Regions from separate parts of the Homo sapiens genome. Here regions 2, 3, 4 and 5 are each linked to region 1. Evidence: promoter capture Hi-C in 16 types of primary human blood cells and fetal thymus (Javierre and others, 2016). All regions are on one chromosome and are shown on one strand. Each heading gives the region's core, a stretch centred on a gene start or on the middle of the fragment in contact. The rest is flanking DNA. Distances are from core to core; before and after follow the strand shown.

Region 1 (2,691 bases), core at 111-2,610:
CAACCGTATGTTCATTGTAGTGCCATTCACGATAGCAAGGACATGAAATCAACCTAAGTGCCCATCAACAGTGGACTGGATAAAGAAAATGTGGTACATATACACCATGGAATATAATGCAGCCATAAAAATAAGGAAATTATACTCTTTGTAGCAACATGGATGGAACTGGAGCCATTATCCTATGCAACCTAATGCCAAGAACAGAAAACCAAATACACATGTTCTCACTTATAAGTAGGAGCTAAACATTGAATATATGATGGTAAACGTGGAAACAACAGGCATTGAGGATCATTAGATGAGGAAAGGGGGAGACGGACAGAGGGGCATGGGTTGAAAAAGCACCTGTTGAGTACTATGCTTACATCCTGTTGGGATCATTGGGACCCCTAACCTCGATATACCCTAAGGTTTTGCGTTTTGTATTTTGAAACTGGTAAGATCAAACTTTTTTCCCAATTTTTTTTTTTTTTTTTTAGATCGAGTCTCACTCTGTCGCCCAGGCTGGAGTGCAATGGTGTGATCTCGACTCACTGCAACCTCCGCCTCCAGGATTCAAGCGATTCTCCTACCTCAGCCTCCTGAGTAGCTGGGATTACAGGCATGTGCCACCACGCCCGGCTAATTTTGTATTTTTAATATAGACAGGGTTTCTCCACGTTGGTCAGGTTGGTCTCGAACTCCCGACCTCAGGTGATCTGCCCGCCTCGGCCTCCCAAAGTGCTGGAATTACAGGCATGAGCCACCACGCCCAGCCATCCCAGTGTTTTAAATAGCAATTTATATTTCCTCTTCATGAATTGTCTGTTAAAGCAGTTGTTGGCGGGAATCAAGTTTTGTTCTTTCAATGTGCTTCGGGCCTTAGAAATGGTGTTTGTTACTTAGTTGACTCTCACAAAGCTTTGAATACATATAGATAGAAACCTAGCCGTAATTGTTTAGAATCTTGAGAGAGTAAGCCACTAACACCGCACAACTGTGTGCCATTTTACAACTTACAGAGAATATTCATGAGTATTAGTGCATTTTAATACAACTACTGTGCATTGTTGCTTTCAGCATTTTACTATGCGGAGCAGTCTTGAGTAACTGAGGTCTGAGAAGGATAAATGGTGAAAATTCAAGGAATTTCTCCTAGAAACGGAGGAATTCGGCTTCCCTAAAGAAAGGACATACCGACTGAAATAGTTGGTCCTCCCGTGCACCAGAGGGTGAAGCAGCAGGATGTGACGCCTCACGAAAAGTGAGCGGCTTGCTGGACTACACTTCCCAGAAGGTTTCGTTGGCCCTCGCACTACGCAATCACCCAGAACGCTCAGCGGCCGAAAACTTCAGGTTCCAGGCTGCTGTGCGGCTAAATGCGACTCCATCTCCCCCGACCCAAGCGCGTAATGGCCGCTGGCTATCTTGGGGGAGCCAGCTGTTGGACTATGCCCCACTGCCAGGAAACAGGCGCCGGAAGGTTCTCTGACAAGATCTCGCTTTCCTAGGGCGGTGAAGGCGTTCAAAGGTCGGGAAGGGGCGCTGGGAGAAGCGGGGCAGCGCTGAGCCATGCTCGCGAACTGTGGGTCTGTCTGTGAAGAGACCCAGTTTCGTGGGACCACGGTGGCGCCTGCGCTGGGAGGTGAGCTTGTGACAGAGCGAAAACTACAATTCCCAGCATTCCTGTGGTGCCAGAACTACCTTGCCCGAAAGCCTGTGCGAGATTTACCCCGTCTTCCGCCTCCCTCCCACCGGAAAACTCTGAGGACATGAATAGTCGCCAGGCTTGGCGGCTCTTTCTCTCCCAAGGCAGAGGAGATCGTTGGGTTTCAAGGCCCCGCGGGCATTTCTCGCCGGCCCTGCGGAGAGGTGAGGCAAGGCGTCGTGTCATAGATGCCTGAGTGCTCTCTAGGGAGACGATGCCCGTGGGGTCGCGCCTGCTCGAGCGAACGGGAAGAGAAGGTGCCACGCCCTCCTCCCGGATTCACGCCTTGTGCTGGGCGACGCCGCTGCCTGCTGCCCCGACTTGCCCAGCTCGCCCCAAGGGGCGAGGACTGAGGAAAGCACTGCCTTTCTGTTCTTAAAGCGAACCTTTGAAGGCCTGGGCTTCGCGCCCGGCTTCTTTCTCAGCCGTTGTTTCCGTTTTTTGGTGACAAGAGGCTAGTAATCTCGTCAGGAGCCAACGTAAGGTAATCTGTGTTTGAGGGTGTCCTGTTTTCTTTTGTGGCCTGATCAAATTTTGATTTTGTTTTTTTAGGTGCTGGCCTCGAGCCCAGGTTTTTGGTAGACAGCATCATAAATTTCAGGCCACGTCTGCCTTATTCTCACTGGAATTCTCAGTACATTTCAGTCACATTGTAGACTTTGGGAAAATAAGTGAATACTGGAACCCACAAGTTTCCAACCTGTTGGCACCCCTGTTAACAGGGTGTCCTGAAGACATCTAACTTTATTCAGAGAAATGTTTCTAGGGCTAGGTTTTTGTTGTCGTCGTTGTTTTTCACCCCCAGTTTTTTAACTTCCCTCCCAGTTTTTAAACCGTTTTAAGGTTGTCCACAAAATAGGCGAATAGGCACCTCTTATCTCTGTTCACCTTCTTGAATCTTCAGTGCCAGGTACGCTGAGCCATTCGGTACCCAAACACTTCTACGCTGTTATTTATACTCCATATTGTTACTTGTGCTATTTTGCTCATTGTTTCATTTT
Region 2 (2,691 bases), core at 72-2,571, 3.0 Mb before region 1:
CCTATTCCATTCTCAAAGTAAAGAATGATACTGTGCAACAGACATGGTACTACCATCTTCACTTGCCCAACGAGGAAAGAGACACAGGGCAGTAATTTGCACCTGCATCTTGCCACAGGGATTCCCTGCATCTTTGCTTTTGCTTAAGCAAAAAGACAAGTCTCCAGATTCAGCCCTCTGATCTTACTACCAAGGCATCCATTAGTACTCTCGCAGAAGCCAACTACTCTGCAGTCATATGATCTCAAAAAGTTCAATAAAATGGCAGGTAACACAATAAATGTAAAATATGTGCCTGTAATTCTCTGACTCACATTAACAGTAGTAACTGCTCAGGTTACCTGAACTCTAACACAAAAACATATTCCCCCACACCCCATCTGCTTTGGCCTTTTGCCATTATTTGGCTCCCTCAAGAGTAAAACTATTGCCCTTATCTTTTCTAAACTCATTTTTATACAATGTTCTCTACTCCCTTACCTTACTACTGCCCCTAAGTCAGGGGTACATGGATGAAATTCAGAAGGCTTGTGAACTCAAATGGGGAAAAAAAATTGCATCTTAATTTTTGCCACCTTTAAAATTTAGCACTTCCTTCTATTATTATCTAGGTAACACATGCTTAATGTTACTGAAGTTGTGACTCTGCCACCAATGGAAATCAAGTATTTTTATATTACACTTCGAAAAAGTGTTTATACCCATCACTACTATCAGACCCGCTGCTAGATCTTGTTACTTAATGTGCTAATAAAGTACATATAGTATAGGACTACATCTAAAATTTGTTTTAGAAATATTTTATAACATGGTGTACAATTTTATAATTGAATTTGTTTGTAACCTCATATCCTGTATTTCATACATCTAAAAATGTTATTTTGAGAAGACTCTACAAGATTAAGGCTTCCAAGGCATGCGCACGCACACACACAAAATTAAGGCTATCCAAATGGAGGAACCAAAACAAAACTAATCCAATCATTTGGTCTTGAACAGCTTTAAAATTGCAGCAAAGAATATGTTTTCCTGTAAGGGTCTGCAAGAAGAAAATAAGCTTTATTTTGTCCTTTGCAAGTTTCTTCATTCTAAACAGGTCTGACAGTTTCATTATATTTTGCCTGATTATTAAGTATGTGGAAGAGCCAGAAACATTATTCTATGTAATCATAAAATTAGTAGTAGTAATTATTATAAATAAATAACATGTGTATAGTACTTACTATGGGGCAGACACTCTTCTTAGTACTTTAGCTATATTAACTCATTTAATGCTTACAAATACTCTATGAGGTAAATACCATACACCACCATCCTCATTTTTAAGAAACTAAGACAATTATGTCAGTCTCTTGCTCGAGGTCAAGCTAATAGAACAGAAATTTTAACCTATCACTTGGATCCAGCATCTGTGCTCTTAATACTCTAATCTGCCTAGAGAAATTTAAGAAAACGCAGAAATAAAATGAACGGTCTTCAAATAATAAAAAGAAGAGGGTAAAAAATGTTAGATCCCAATGTACAGTGAGATTGGGGCGCACAATCGGGTGAAAAATACAAAAGTAACACTTAACACCCAAGCTTTTCTGAAATTTGAAGTCTAAGATCCCACAAACTGACAATCCCAAGAATATCTATCTTGTCTCTGCAAAAAGAATCCTTTCCCATCTTTTCCGTGAAAATCTTAGTCATGACATCATTATATGTTTCAGCTAGGAATTATGACAGAATTTAGAAACTGCGTGTAGAAGATGTAACATTTATTCCTAAAACTAGCCAAACTGAGAAAATGAAGAACTTACGCCACTCTTCTGAAACATTTTAAGGATTTTTTAAAAGATATTCACAAGTTGTTATATATCATGAGAAGGAGAATCACATTTTGGAGTAGTATCTTTGAATAAATTGTCAAGATACTTCGTTGACCTTACTGGTTATCAACCTAAAACATGAAACTGAAAACTTATTTATGTCAATTCGGCTCTTACTGGCGAGTCAATTAAAACTCAGTTGGGTTAAATGTTGGTACCGAATGATTACGAATACCCATTTCAGAGCTTAAAAAAATCTGATTGCAAAACATCGCGCACTTGGCGAAGCCAGGAACCCACACTTAAATACATCTGCCTATACCACTGTTGCCCAAAATCTTCCAGGTCGCCACCCCCCTCACCTTTATCTTAAGTAAAAACGTTCAAAGAAGAAATCACCCACTCTTACTTCCTCAAAGGTAGTCACTCCCCACCCCCAAATCAAAAATCGATCCTCTCAATTCGGCTCCTCCTACAGAAAAGGCGACCTTCAGGCGCACCCGGTCTCCGCGGACAGGACGGAGGCGGACACAAAACCCCCTTTAATAAAGTCTCCCAAACTCCGCAAATCGAAGATCACTTTCCATCCTGAAAATTCCACAAGGGTCTTAGAGTGACAACCCTTACGCTCCTTTAACAGGGTCCCTAACTCTGCCCCGTCCTTCCAACTTTCTTAGAAAAGTCTCTAACGTGCCTTTTAAACTACTAGAATCTCAGACCCGCACTCTCCCCTTAAATCCCCCCAAAGGCCAAAACACTCCCCATCACATGCAAACTGATTTCAGGGCAGACTTCTCAGACCCACGCAATCACTAGAACCACTCTCCTTTGCCTAGTTCCTGCTTGCTCTCGGCCCCACATCAAAATCCCCGTAGGCAAT
Region 3 (2,691 bases), core at 59-2,558, 2.8 Mb before region 1:
CATCCAGATCCTTGTTATCCCTCCGGGCTGCCTCCCTGGAAGGGATCCCCCACTTCCTTTGCTCCACTAGCTGCTTCGCCCATCCCTTCCTGGCTTTCTGTTCCACCTTCCCTCCTGCTTTTGGGTTACCTTTTCATCGCCTCTATAGTAGCTTCAGTGTAGTTTCTTCGACTCATTTTAAATACCATACCCAGTTACCCGACTTTTATTTCAGATTACCTTCTTTGTGGGAGTGAAAGTAAAAGGATTCAATTTGGTGTAGGGAAAGCTTTCTGGAAAGTTGGGATTTTTATTTGCCTCTGGTGGAATTTAATCGTTGTGTTGTCCATACTTTTGACTGGGGTGAGTTTGTGACTGTCAGCTCTGCCCCCCAGCTTTTCACATGGGGATATGGAAAAAGGCATTTTGCTGATACTCTTATCAGTTCCTGGAACTGTTAATTCTGGCGGCTTGAATTCAGAAGCTTGAGTGTTAAGCGTAGACTGTTGGAATTCCAAATGGATTAATAAATTTACTTACAAATAACATACATCCCTTAAAAAAATTGGCAAAATGATGTTTGATGATGCTTGAGTTTGGATGTTTTAATTATGCCAGTTACCTTTTGAGGAACTAGCTTTAGCTTCTCTTACACGACATAGTATTCGTCCATTCGCTAACGTAGATACAATTAGTAGAGCTAACTCCTCGTAACTTTTTTCTAACCTGGAAGTCACCTGTAATACCCTCCTTTTTCTTTGCGCTCTTTTACCCCAGGGTACAAAGCTCATTGGATCACTCAAGCCAATGGAGCTTAGACCTGAAACTTTTCAGGGAAAAATAGGGCAATAGTCACGATAAGTAAGTTCCCTTTTTAAATGACTGGACACATTAGTCTGACTGACTTTCATCATACATGAAAGTTACTTTGTTTTACTGTTTGAAGCAAGAGTGAGCATGCCCTGAAAGATAATTCACTGTCTGGAAGCCTGTTTTGATTTCTCATTTGGACTTTGGCCGTAAAGTTTGCACTTTAAAAAAAATGTACGAAATGTAGATTCTTCCAAGTTACTGTGCTCATGAATGCTGTTAGAACAAGTTTTTGCTACACAGAAGCCTATTATTCTTTGTGATTGTTCCTCCACTGTGGAAAAAAGTTTTAAATAAAAAAGCATTAGTGCTTGATTCTTTCAGATATGCATGCAGGCTGCTTTTAAACTCTCAGTCCTTGCTTGTCTTAGAGAATGGAGAATATGTTTAAATGGTGACACTCTTATGAACAGAAAACTTTTTAAAATGCATCGTAAAGCCATATGTGATTTTTTGATTATCTGATACGTGTAGTAGACGTTTCTGCTATTTACGGCTCTTCAAATACTACTTGGTTTGCCCTACCAAATCTTACAGTTTGTCCTGACACTGTGTTAATTCTTTTGTTAGTTGCTTTTGGTTTTTTTTTGTTTTTTTTTTTTGTATGGGAGTATGAAGAAACTAGTTGTGACTGTGTGAACTATTTTCCTCTTTCCTCATTCAAAATAAGAATCGATAAGGCTTTTAAAAGTTTTTTTTGTAAAGGTTTGTGTCTTATTTCAAATGTAGCAGTGGTTCTTTTAAAGCATTGTCAAAAAGAGGAGAAAATAGGTAGGGTTAGAAGAGTGCTATTTGCATGTTGTTTCATAAATGTTATTAGCTATTTCTCTTGTTATAGCCACTACTGCAGATAGATGGTAACTGGGATTAGGTTTGGAGGATAATCTTGCATTTGTCGTTCTTTTTCTCTACCACTTCTGTGTTTACAAGCTCCCACGTTTTTGGAACTTGAATATACCTGGTAGTATTTGATTTAAAAATATATGTGTCGTTAATGTGCTTCTGTTTCTTTTCAATGAGGTTTTAAAATACAGGGATACTATTTTCCCTACATTGTTGATTAAAATGTCCTGTAATCAGTTCTCACTAATAAAATACCTTTATCTTAGGTAAAGTCTGACCAGTGAGTGGTTTACTAAACAAATACCTTCCTTGCACACACTAACATGCTTTGAGAAAATTAAAAAGTCTTCTACGGACAGTTCATGGTGTTGACATCATGAACTTTAGGCTTTAATACAGAAACCTGTCATTTCAAGTAATTTTTTGTCTTTTAGGAATTTTTCTTTATAGTGAAAGCTTAGTTTATGTGCACCTTTTAATGCCCCTAGCAACTGATGCTTATTTATATGAATCTAATGAAAATGATTTCATTTTAAAATGGCAGCATTTAACAAAAAATATGCTTAGGACTGTTGTTTTTCGTATAAGCCCTTAGAGTGTGGAGGTGGTTTCTGTCAGTTTCTCGCCAAGATCTTTCCACATTAGGAAGTGATTATTAATAATTCATGAATTATGGCTTAATTCATACTACATTATATACTTACTGAAGAAAGATTTTTTTGCTTTGCTTATACTGTAGGTGTTAGTGGATAATAGTGTTGACTAGCATCCCTAGTGTGAAAGAGTTGTCAAACTTGAAATATGTTTGTAAAAATAAACACGATTTCCGTTTAATCTTAGGCCTTTAGTAGCCATAATCAAGGTAGAGGAATAGCAGCCCTTATATTTGAAGAACTTCAGTTTTCCAGGCACTTTCTCATCATCTCATTTAATCCTGTCTCACAGCTGGAGGTGGGGGCAATTCATATACATAGAAAGTAGCTTCTAATTCCATTTAGC
Region 4 (2,691 bases), core at 51-2,550, 2.5 Mb before region 1:
AGTTAAAGTCCCATTCAGGGTTTCCCATGGTTTCTTTGCAAGTCCCAGAATTGTTACTTGTTTACTCTGAACATGAAGGTGGCTGATGGAAGTTCAACCTGACTAACCACAGCATCCTGTAGTCAGCACATAGATGACTGGAGCTTACGTAGAGTTTACATGCATCTTGAAAACTTTTGAGTGTTATTTGAGCTAGTGCCTTAAGAAGTAACCCGGAGTAAAATCTTAAAGCTTTGCATCAATATTTTCTTTTTGGTATTCCACTCAAGTATAAAAGGTCTTGTGGTCCAACTCTATAATTTTTGACTGTATAATTTTGGCAATTTCCAGGCATTTTTCTATGGAAAATTCCTTTCAACCCAGTAACGGATACTTAGTAGTATTGATAGAATTGACCACAAGTGTTTTAAAAATAGGAAACTTAAAGAAACAAAAAGGGAAATAAATTAGTACATTTTAGATGTTTTAAAAGTGGATTAAAGTACTAATATAAAGCATAATGGGTAAACTATATCTTTACCTTCTTTCAAGTCCACATGCTATTTCTTGCCTTAGAAATTTGTAAATGATCTTAATGTAGAAAGTATCTGACTGAAGACTGTGCAAGCTGGCAGCTGCTAGACTACTAAAATCTTGAATTTTACTGTTGGTGAATGTCAGCCGGCAACATGTACTTGATATTCTATTTAAGGCTATTGGCACACTAGAAGATAATCTAGGACTCAGCACATTTCCCAAACACTCATCAATTATTTATTCATTCTACAAATATATCCAGTGCCTACTATGTGTCAGAAACTGCTTTGGATTTTAAGCCTTAAAATGATGAAAAAGACAATGTTTCTGCCTGCATGGAACTTATATTCTAGTGGAGGCTCAAATGTTTGTTAGTTGAGTAAGTGAATAAATGAAGGAGGGTGGCAAGAGGGAGGAGGCTGGGACTAGGCTGGATTGTGGTGAAAGCAACCAATGTTCCATGATAATGCCTGAGGGCTTAGTCACAGCCACAAGGTTAGGTCCAAGTGTTTAAGCCAGCATGGCGACCTTACCATTCTCTTCACACTCAGAGGCCTACAAGGAGGCCCTGTCTCCATATTCAAGTGCTTGCTTGGGAAGTCATTGCTTTTTGCACCTCCATCCTCCCTTTTGCATGCACTTGTTCCTTAATGTTGGCGTTAGTTACGGTCCTACTCCCTGTCAGCTTGTCCGTCCTCTCTGCCAGGCTCTTTGGATTGATACTTCTTTGGCCTGACTGTGGATTCCTCTTCTTGCCTTTGTCCCTAAATACTTTCCTTGGGATTCCTTCTTGTCTTTATCTACTACTTCCCCTAGCTAATGGCCAGATCTATCCCAATCTGAGCACAGCTATAGTTTCTGATTTGAAGCCTTAGATACTCCCTGACCTAATGGGAAATGAGATGTCAGGGAGTGGAACTTAGCAGCAGCAGTTTCCAGACAGTGATGGCTCTCAGATCCAGGCAGGCAGCAAGGCTGAGTTTGCAGGGGTTCATCTAATTTGGAATAGGACCACAACTAGGAGGAGGAGTTTGACAGGAGAAGGTCAATGGCTCAGGGATTCAAGACAGGTTCTCTGCCCTGGCAGAATAAGTAAAGTGTAGAGCAAATAGTAAGATCCAGTCTTATAGATGCTTGAGCATGGCCAAGGTTGGGGCAAGGCTGTACCTTGCTGCAAGGGGTGGGCTCCAAGCTCATTTTTTGTTAGCAGTAGCCATTCCAGACCCCATGACTAGGAGTCCGAGATCATTGATCTGGTAGTCTGCTTACACCTGAGACTCACAGAGAAAACTGGCTGCAAGAACAGACTTTGAGAGGAGACAGACTAGGGTGCGAATCCCTTCACCTCTCTGATCCTTAGTATCCTCACTTGTAAAATGGGAGTGGTAACACCTGCCTTACAGGGATGTGGTAAGGATTCAATGAATTTGGTATAACTATTAGATCTCTTTGAAATGGAAAGCAGATAAATGAGTCTTTGAGCACCTAGGGCTCTCTATGAGGCCCAACTAAGGGTGGAAATGGCCAGGGCCCCAGTGCTGGTGTGGCTGGCTCTGCTGCCACTGGCAGGGTCTAGCACAGTCATTCAGGTAGAGCTATTCAAGAGCAACAACACCCAGTGGTTGTGCTCTCCCACTGGATTCTGGGGAGTGGTTGGATGTTGGCTCATTCATCTCTGCCACATGCTCATGTGTATATAGTCATCTTATGTTTGTCTTGGCTCTGCTGTGAGCACATTACCTCTCTGGGTACTGAATCTACTTCCTTTAATCTCAAAAAACATTGACCAAAAACTGAAAATGGACATATATATAGCTCCTGTCCCTGAGTCCGTTCCACATACTTAAGCTTCTTTCATTCTTCTGCTCAGAAATCTTCAGTTGCTTGTTATATTTAACTGTACCATTGCTGGACTTTCCAGGCCTTTTATAATCTGATTTTAACATGTCTGGCCATTCTGCTCCCTTTGCTTCCTAACACTCGCCTTCTTTGTCCCACTGGAACCTGTGTCTCTCAATCACGGCTTGCTTCTCCCAGCTCTGGTGCCTTCACCTCCAGTTGTCCCTGTTATTCCTCTTTTAAAAATCCTACTCTTTCTTTAACGTGGCTCAAGTCTCACCTTTCCCTTTTTTGACTCCTGGAGTCCTTATTGGTCTACATGTCTCTGAACTCCTG
Region 5 (2,691 bases), core at 1-2,500, 2.3 Mb before region 1:
TGACTTGCCGGTGGGCGGGGACCCAGAACGCCCTGGGCGGGAAGTGGTGCTGATTTACGGCTCAACGCCTCTCGATTGCAGCCCGGGCCCGCCCCCACTCAGTCAAAAGCCGCGCCCTCCATCCTGACTGTGATTGGGCGCGGCGTCTAGAAATTACGGCCACTTATTCGCTTAGAGGAGGTCCAGGCGCCTGTGGGCCTGCCCCCCTCGCCAGCCGAGTATTTCCTTCCCTGACTATTTATCAGCTTAGCTCCCTGATCTCTTCGCGTCCTGCGGGAAAGATGGGGCGGCCCGAATGTTGTAATGTTACTGCGCTCCTGCCTCTCCTCAGGGCAGCTGGGAACTAGCTGCCTGCCCCTTTCAGTCCTTGAGGGAACTCGCCCCTTTGCCCTGGCCTGTGTGGTGTTAAAGCTCTGTTTCTCGGGCACCTCCTCCTCCAAACCCCGGACCAGCCGCCCAGCGCCGTCAGAGCAGCCCCGACTAGCCTCCTCTCCTCTCAGCCGTCTGACTCCTCTCCCCAGTCTGTAGTCCCCTCAATTTGCATCCTTTAGCCCCGCTTGGAAAGAGACCGGAGAGAAATTTGCCCACTACCCCCGCGAGAAGACCCACTTGTCAGCCGTGTCTCGGGGTGGGGGGCACTGCAAGGCCTGGCGCTGTTTTGTGCACGTTAAATGCCCAGCAGTATCTCCCAGACCGGCAACCCCCGACCCTCCAGTCTCCATGTCTTACAGAAGCCAAATTCGAGAGTTATATAATTTCTAGTGCTGCTGTTGCTCCTGCCTGAGGAAACACTTCATCGCGTGGAGGGTGCAGGACATTTCAGTGCTCTTCCCTAAAAGAACGGGGCTTGGGCAGGGGTGGCCAGCGGTGGCAAAGAAATGTCTTGTCTTTTCTGCAAAAGGAAGGTGGGTAGTTTGAAGAGAGATTGAGAGAAAAGGTGGATGTGAAAGCCAAGCAGCTGCACTTTCTCATTTAGGAAATCGCGGACCGTTTACATAGCTTATGCTTACATGTCTAATACTACTACGGCGTCTCTGAAAACACCTTTGGGGGAAGGTTTGGCTTCTCTCGAAGTCTCAGTGTTTTTCCTCGCCGGATAGGGAGCTGCTTGAATGCGAAGAGATGGCATGATGTGAATGACTCCAGTGTGAAGAAATCTGCTTCGCCAACTCATCCTGCATCAAGTGCCCATTGAGTAGCACTGTCACTTTAATGTCTCCATGCCAAGGGATTGCTTTCCTTTTTTTTCAATCCTCTCGGTTAATACATGGGAGGATCAGAATCAGAGGGGCATTAAGGATCAAGCCTGGGGGCTTGGAGAGCACAGAAGAAAAAAATGAAAGGGACAGCAAGCTGGATTCTGAGTTACTGAGGGGGTGAGATCCGGAACTTCTGATCAGTAAATATAAGGGGGCCTTTCAATGTGTGTTCTGCCACAGAAAACTGTTCAAACTCACCTATCTTTTTAGAGACTGGAGTCAAAGAGATTTTTAAAAGTATTTTTGGGGAGGTGGGGTTACATTTTTCTCTACAGATTTGAGTATCTTTATCATCATCTTTGAATTTGACCATGTATAAAGTAATGAGACCTGTCTAAATTTGGTTTGTGCCTTAATTGAGTTAGTCATTGAACTTCCAAAAATGTTGCTGCCTGAAGAGGAATTTCAGTAACGTTCTTCATGTTTACAATAATTTTCCCAGTTTGTAAAAACAGTCTAAATATTTTCTGAAAATTGAAAAACTTGAAAAACTAAAAAATTACGTTGCTGTAAACTCTGTGGGCGGTGTAAAAAGTTTAGTTGTGGAAAAAATACATCATTATTTTCTTTGTCTGACATAGAAGACTCAGCCTGGATTTCAAAACTGAACACTGAAGTGGTTTGCAACAGTTACCTGGCTCTTGGCCTCAATCCAGCTGGATCAAACTGAGACCTGAAAAGAGATATTGACTCCTGTGGCAGTGGAAAGACCCAAGAATGCCAGTCAAGAAGACAGGTGGGCCATAAGGTTGCTATATAATATTTCTCCCTTTTGTTGGTTCTGGTACTTGTAATTTAAATTATATTCCATTTGAGAGTAAAGTTTTGCTTCAGTTTGGGGGAAATATTTATTGTAATATAGTTTCAGTGGTACATAATTCAGTAATATTATTTTACTAAAGTAAAAGGAAGCAAGACTATAGTATTTATTGATAGATATTTATGATTTCATAAATCAGGTTGTTTATATCACCGTTGGTAATAAGAATAGATTCAGTACCGCAGATTTGGAGTCTCCTTTAGCTTGTTTTCTTAGCTTGTTGAAGGTTACTTTTAAGCAGTCTTTAAAAAAGAAACTTGTGCAGTGGAGCTCTTCCTCATGGGTTTAATATTTATCAAACTAATTACAGAATTGTGAAAGGTAGCAAAGTAATTTCATTTGCACTGAACAAAATTACAGCTTTATAATTTATCTTTTGGTTAAAAAATAGACTTATTATTTGGATTTATTCTAGTGTAAATCTTCACTTTTGTGATAAAGCACAACTTTCGTGACTATTGTGCTTTTCCAGATATATGCATTATCCAATAACATGATTGTCAAGTTCCCCAAATGGGGCAAACACCTGTTTTTTTCCTCCCTCCTCAACAACTTTTATTATTGGAATTGATCAAGATCTAGTGAATTCCTGAAGCATAGTTGATTATATTC

The links. Contacts are between HindIII fragments. The CHiCAGO score rates a contact against its expected background, and 5 or more counts as called.
Region 2: a fragment that was not itself captured here is called in contact with the fragment with the promoter of CCDC90B in region 1 in 1 of 17 cell types (non-activated CD4 T cells); the score reaches 6.6 in non-activated CD4 T cells.
Region 3: a fragment that was not itself captured here is called in contact with the fragment with the promoter of CCDC90B in region 1 in 3 of 17 cell types (non-activated CD4 T cells, naive CD8 T cells and naive CD4 T cells); the score reaches 8.2 in non-activated CD4 T cells.
Region 4: a fragment that was not itself captured here is called in contact with the fragment with the promoter of CCDC90B in region 1 in 1 of 17 cell types (naive CD4 T cells); the score reaches 5.4 in naive CD4 T cells.
Region 5: the fragment with the promoter of DLG2 here is called in contact with the fragment with the promoter of CCDC90B in region 1 in 4 of 17 cell types (fetal thymus, naive CD8 T cells, non-activated CD4 T cells and 1 more); the score reaches 9.9 in fetal thymus.

The regions. Positions count from the first base shown.
Region 1 is chr11:83,285,036-83,287,726 of GRCh38, reverse strand. It overlaps CCDC90B (coiled-coil domain containing 90B), which reads left to right and starts at 1,360. Exons shown (of 9, transcript NM_021825.5): 1 at 1,360-1,854. The coding sequence starts at 1,755. It overlaps CCDC90B-AS1 (CCDC90B antisense RNA 1), which reads right to left and starts at 1,607. Exons shown (of 3, transcript NR_186344.1): 1 at 1,180-1,607. RefSeq lists enhancers at 1,323-1,972, 1,395-1,990, 2,023-2,102, 1,991-2,587. The HindIII fragment of the contact is 4,800 bases long and covers 906-2,691 here.
Region 2 is chr11:86,245,489-86,248,179 of GRCh38, reverse strand. All of the region lies in intron 1 of EED (embryonic ectoderm development), which reads right to left. Among named protein-coding and RNA genes, the nearest start is that of EED, 2.1 kb to the right of the region's middle. RefSeq lists a silencer at 239-533. The HindIII fragment of the contact is 524 bases long and covers 1,060-1,583 here.
Region 3 is chr11:86,065,507-86,068,197 of GRCh38, reverse strand. All of the region lies in intron 1 of PICALM (phosphatidylinositol binding clathrin assembly protein), which reads left to right. Among named protein-coding and RNA genes, the nearest start is that of PICALM, 2.2 kb to the left of the region's middle. RefSeq lists an enhancer at 1-468. The HindIII fragment of the contact is 1,685 bases long and covers 466-2,150 here.
Region 4 is chr11:85,821,315-85,824,005 of GRCh38, reverse strand. It overlaps a transcript of SYTL2 not described here. Among named protein-coding and RNA genes, the nearest start is that of SYTL2, 12 kb to the right of the region's middle. The HindIII fragment of the contact is 2,133 bases long and covers 234-2,366 here.
Region 5 is chr11:85,625,903-85,628,593 of GRCh38, reverse strand. DLG2 (discs large MAGUK scaffold protein 2) reads left to right here and starts at 1,250. Exons shown (of 28, transcript NM_001142699.3): 1 at 1,250-1,376; 2 at 1,841-2,007. TMEM126B (transmembrane protein 126B) reads right to left here and starts at 1. Exons shown (of 5, transcript NM_018480.7): 1 at 1. RefSeq lists enhancers at 204-393, 534-583, 664-823, 696-1,204. The HindIII fragment of the contact is 9,013 bases long and covers 1-2,691 here.